Regions from separate parts of the Homo sapiens genome. Here region 2 is linked to region 1. The links are contacts of gene promoters, found by promoter capture Hi-C in human tissues and cell types (Jung and others, 2019). All regions are on one chromosome and are shown on one strand. The core of a region is centred on a gene start or on the middle of the fragment in contact, and the rest is flanking DNA. Distances in the headings are between cores, read along the strand shown. Region 1 holds the start of LRIT2 (leucine rich repeat, Ig-like and transmembrane domains 2). Region 2 overlaps NRG3 (neuregulin 3).

Region 1 (2,861 bases), core at 182-2,681:
TATGCAAAGAGATCTGTATGCAAACATTTAAAATAATGCCAATAGTGGAACACTACCTTGAAATCTTTTCTGTTCTAGTGAGCATAATTCAGGGCTATCCCAATCTTACTTGCACCCACCCTTCGTGACTGACCCAGCTTTGAATCTCTCTAATGAGGATGGGTTTGCTACAGACCTCTCCATTCCCTCCAGATACACTGAGAGGGTGCATGTGGCTTACCATCAAATTCTCTCCACATACTCAGGGGATAAGTCCATGCAATGGATGGTGAGGGGCTGGCCTGTGCCAAGCATCGCAGGGTCACATTCTGTCCTGCCCGGATGGTGATATTGGCACTGGGGGTTGAGATCTGTGGCTTCATGCAAGCACTAAGCTCAGTTTCATGAAAAAGCTGCCCTGCCTTGGACAGAGGGCCCTGACATATCAGGTAGGAATTCACCAGGATGACTGGGAGGGTAATGGACTTGACAAACTGGACAAGCCCCCTTAGGCGACAGTCACATACCCAGGGGTTGTCATGCAGGGCCACCACCAGGCTGGAGAGAATCTCAGCCCCACAGTCAGGCTGCCGGCATTTCTGGTAGGCTGGCCAGTTCAGGAAGACACTCTTGGATACAACTGTAAGCCTATTGGAGGATAGGTCAAGGTAGGTCAGGCTGACCAAGAATTGAAGAGCCAGCTCAGGGAGTGCATCAATCTTGTTGCGTTTGAGATCCAAGACCCTCAGGAGAGGGGTGGCACGGAACGCTGTCCATGGTACTGAGCAGAGCTTGTTCCCCTCCAGTCTCAGCTCCCTCAGTTCTGGCAGGTGTTCCAGGGCTCCTAGGTGGATCACACTGATATTGTTAAAATTGAGCCAGAGGTATTCCAAGGTGCTCATGTTGATGAAAGACCCTTGGGGCATCTCAAATAAGGGTGAATTTTCAATTCTCACTTGCTTGAACTCTTCAGAAAGGTTCCCAGGGATCTTTCCCAAGGAGACAGATGTGCACTGCAGAGTCCTGTACAAGAAACCAGAACAGCTTTAAGATAAACAACAGGGGACTGAAAAGTGGGGTCAGGCTGATCCTGGCATTAGACATGTGAATCAGAATAAAAATATTATTATTCATTGAAATAAAAGAGTTAGACTCATTTTGGTAAAAATGCACAGTTCAGCAAAGTTCAGTCCCAACTAGAATGAGTCTCATAGAGTTTTGCTGATTTCCTGCCAATTCTAAGCCTGCTTCCACTCCACATCATCCCCAAAGAAAACCCATTCCCCATAACCCTCTAACATCTGGCCAGCAGAGCGCACCTGCCAAAACTCTCCTCTGAGCAAGTGCATCCTGGCAGACAGAAAGGCTGAGCTGCGTGTGTATCCAGAAAGACCAGAACTAACAGGAAGTAATGAAAAACTGAAGCCATATTTCTCTGTAAGAAAATACGTTGTGAGTTTTGAATAAGTATCGCCCCAGCTTCCGAGTGGCAAATCCTATTATTGGTAATCCATGATGATGTAAGTCACACAGCAGCAGGAAAGCCCATGGGAGCTCTGAGGTCTGTTACAGCCCAGACCACAAGTTCAGTCAGAACACACGAAGGGGGATCAATGTCTCTTAACTAGGGTCAGGAAATTCAACATTTGTGTAATTCTTGAGTCTGAAAAGCAAACTCCAAGTCAGATGTCCAATTCCATACAGATTCTACATTTCTTAGAGTCTTAAACAGAAGTCTGAGAAACAAGCAGGCAGTGCTATTCTGAGCACCACTGTTCAGGGGATGTGGCCAGAATCCATCTAATGCTTCATCATTTGCAGTTGATTCCTGAAACCTAGAATTTCCAATCATTTTCTCAAAGTGAAAATAGGTGATGAGTAACAAAGTAATTCTGTGTTCATTCCTATCATTTGTTCTCTTCCCAACACCACGGGTGGTGTAGTCATGCTCCTACTGCATCAAGACAGCTGCTTCTGCAGCTTGGGTCACCAGTTTCAAATACAAGATGGTATTTTCTGATTAAACCAAAAGATTGTTTTCTTGGACTTCACAACCTTTCCTTAATACTGTGCATTTCACTTCATCAAAATGGGCAACCTACATTTTAAAAAGAGATGTATACAATTTTATATGCTTGCTCTTTCACTCTTCATTTATTCCACAAATATTTACTGGTCATTTGCTTTAAGCTATACTCTTGCCCAATGAAAGGAACAGGGTCAAGGGCAAACCTATTATAGACCCTGTCCCAAGGAGTCTTCTCTCTTGTTTGTGCTTCTGAATCTTGAGATCTTTGGAATGTAATTTAATCTCTGTGAGTCTTTTCTGTATCATGAGAATATTAACAAATACCTCATAGTGTTTCCAGGAATTTATTTCTCATTATTTTTTAATTTTTGTATTTTTTCAGAGACAGGGTCTCACTCTGTTGCCCAGGCTGGTCTCAAACTTCTCAGCCTCCCAAGTAACTGGGATTACAGGTGCAAGCCATTGCATCCAGCCATATTTTTAGAAAAGTTTGAGATTATGTTAAATACAACACCTAGCACACAGTTGGTGCCCATTAATCCTCCTCCCACTGACAAACTCTTTAAGATCCGAAAAGTCTACATCTCTATTAACTAGGGCACTTCCAGTTGAATATTGAAATTCCATGAGTTCCTTTAAGACTCATGATATACATTGTACCCTACAAAAGGCCTCAGGAAAGAAAATCCGCTTAGCTAACCAGTGAGGGGGGAAATGGGTCACCAGCTAAGCTGATTACACTCCAGGCTTTCCATCCAAGCCAGAAATATTTGCAGGAGTTTCCAAACAGTCTAACTCTAAAACCTGGGGGGACCACTGTGTTTGTCTAAAGGTAAAAATCCAAAACAAAGAG
Region 2 (2,861 bases), core at 211-2,710, 1.4 Mb before region 1:
CTATTGCTAAAAATCTTTATTTTCAAATTTTTCTGTCAAAGGTTTTTCTGAAACATCAACTGAGAATGAGGGGAAAATGTTGCTTTAGGAGATTTTATCTAATCTTATTAATAGCAAATTGTATAGAGATTTCTTATGAACATTTAAGAAATAGAATTCATTCATCCTAATCTACTGCTAGAGAAGCATTTGTTTATAGAGAGACTGGGTCCTTTCATATCAGAAAGCAAGTGACACCTCAGGGAAACATCAGCTATGGCTTTAAGCAGATGTGAGTGTCAACAAGGTTTGAGTTCCTCATGTGCCTTATTGACACTTCCTGTTATAAATATGACTTATAGGTCTTTTCAACAATGACAATGACAATTGAGGCCTGAAATTATGCCCGATTGTCTGAATACTTAGATAAGACGGCATTATTTTCTATATATTTTATTTGTGATCAAGTTCTGTGATTGCCTTTCTACTTAGTTTTTGCTGTTTTTATAAAAATATATACTAAAGACAAAAATCCTGACCTCATTCACACATCACGTATTAGTAGAGCATGTATGAGGTATTGGGTAATGAGCTAGGCTTCTACTCACGGACCTACAATTAATGTGAGAAGTGAAGCTAAAGACCCAACCTGATGATTAGTTGAGACTTTTCAAGTATTTCTCTCTAGAAAAGGCATTGATTTGAGGATGTTGTTTCACATTTCTGAGATGCATCTAGGAGTTGTCATGTACCATTAGTATATAAATCCGGAGTGGCTAATCAGGAGGGAAAAAGAGAATAATTTAGGAGTGACAACCAGATACGTAGAGAAGATGATGTAGATGACAGTCTGATGGGGGTACTGGAATTAGTGCATAGTACTTAGGTAAGTCTCATGTGTTCCTCTGCAGTTTGGATCATAAGGTTGTCTGATAGAGCCTGTTGTAGACATCAGATAGGCACCATCTGCATGTAACCCTTCCTATTTCTATTTGTCCTACCTGCAAATCATTTTATTTTTGAAGCACATCTACTCATTGTCTACATAGACTTTAAAGACTCACACTATATTTTATTTCAACTGTTTCCTGCTTTCATGTGATGGAATTACAGCTTTCCACACATTGTTTGCTGCCAAGACCCTAATTGGTTATTGGACATAAATGTCCTGGGAGAAAGTCACCATCCCAACATGAGTTTTAGCCTCTTGCTTTTCCAAATGTTTGCAATATCTTTCCAACAATTTCTTTCCCTCTAATCATGTTCTGCTTCTAAATGAGACATCTGTCAAAGTACATAAAAAGACAAATGTTATAAAAGTGAAATGATATCTAATTTTTGACTTATTTAGGGGGCATCTTGACTTACATGTTTTCATTACACTTGAAATATAATAATTACTGCATGTTCAATAACATCAATTTGAGCAAGTAAACTTGCAAGGACTCAATAAGGGGAACTGACAGTCATGAATACCTACTTTGTGTCTGGGGATTTGCTAACATTATTTCATTACCTTGCAACGGGGTGTGTGGAGTGTTGCTACTCATGTCCACCTATGTAAAGTTCAGAGGCCTCCATGAGTCCAGAATACATAATTACATGAATCAGAGTTAGGATGTGAACACACATCCATAGGACTACAATGTAATTTCCTTTCTTGTTGGAATTTAAAGTGTGATCCAAGGCCAGCAACATCAGCATCATCTGGGAGCTTGTTAGATACACAGAATCTCAAGTGCCACCCCAAAGCAAACTGCTTCAGAATCTTTGTTTTATTAATAATAAGCTCCCTTGATGAATCCTATGCACATTCAAGAGTGAGAAATACTGATTTATACATCATGCCTCCAAAGCAAGCTTCTTTTTCCCTTTTTCCCTGTTTCCTGTCTTCTCTTATATGGCTGCAAAGACAGTCATATGGCATACTTTTTAAATAAATTTATTTCATTTATTTTTTCACAAAACACATCTAATTTTCTTTGAAACAGTCCAGGGACTCACAGTACTATTCCTTGTTTACAAATCCTTTTTCTTTCTTTACCTAAATAGTCTCCTCTCACAGACAATTTCTTTCCTTCTTCATCTTTCTCAATAACTGCAAAAATTTTCTCCAATAAATTGACTCCCATTATCGTAAGGGGGTAGATGTATCTGGTGTTACCCTTTCTGTGTTGTGAATGAGGAACATTTATGGTTAATTCGTAGGTTCTTCACTTATTTTCATCTCATTTTTCATGTATCTTGAATAATTGCTCTCATAAATGCCCCTCAAACATAATTTCTACACACGTAGTAAAAAAAAAAAAGCACAGTAGTCAAGTCGCTATTTTGAATAAGCACCTTAGAGTTTCTCCTTTCATTTTGTTTATAGCTTATAAATACAGTTTCTACTTACACTGTGTATCACACAGTTAAATCTGAATGATACATTGAGATCATTTTACTAAATGTTCCAGAAAATAAATATTCAAATTCATTTAAATTCAATAAAGGAGTCGACTCATTTCATTTTACTATTACAAATTACTTATAATTTTTGGTGATCAGTGACATTATGTAATTAAACACACACATTTTTCTTTTAATTTTGAGATATTTTTATGATAATATAAATGTGTGAGATCTTTCATAGATGATTATATATGTGATTAACTTTTTTAGATAGCCTTAGAATGAAAAAAATCTCTCCAATTAAACTGTTATTTTTTAGAAATACTTCATTAGCTTTTTCTGCAATGACAAAACTTTTACCTATTTATGATTAATAGAATTACCCATGCTTCATGTTTTAAATCAAACCCGGAATTTAGACAACTAAAGTAATCTCAAAATTATGAATTTATTCCTTATACAGCTACTTATTTATTGTTTTTTCACCT

What was found. Contacts are between HindIII fragments. The study calls those that stand out against the background at their distance.
Region 2: a fragment that was not itself captured here is called in contact with the fragment with the promoter of LRIT2 in region 1 in 1 of the 25 tissues and cell types used here (dorsolateral prefrontal cortex).

Annotation. Positions count from the first base shown.
Region 1 is chr10:84,224,113-84,226,973 of GRCh38, forward strand. LRIT2 (leucine rich repeat, Ig-like and transmembrane domains 2) reads right to left here and starts at 1,432. Exons shown (of 3, transcript NM_001017924.5): 1 at 1,299-1,432; 2 at 221-1,002. The coding sequence starts at 1,408. The HindIII fragment of the contact is 11,140 bases long and covers 1-2,861 here.
Region 2 is chr10:82,805,923-82,808,783 of GRCh38, forward strand. All of the region lies in intron 3 of NRG3 (neuregulin 3), which reads left to right. Among named protein-coding and RNA genes, the nearest start is that of NRG3-AS1, 570 kb to the left of the region's middle. The HindIII fragment of the contact is 4,270 bases long and covers 1-2,861 here.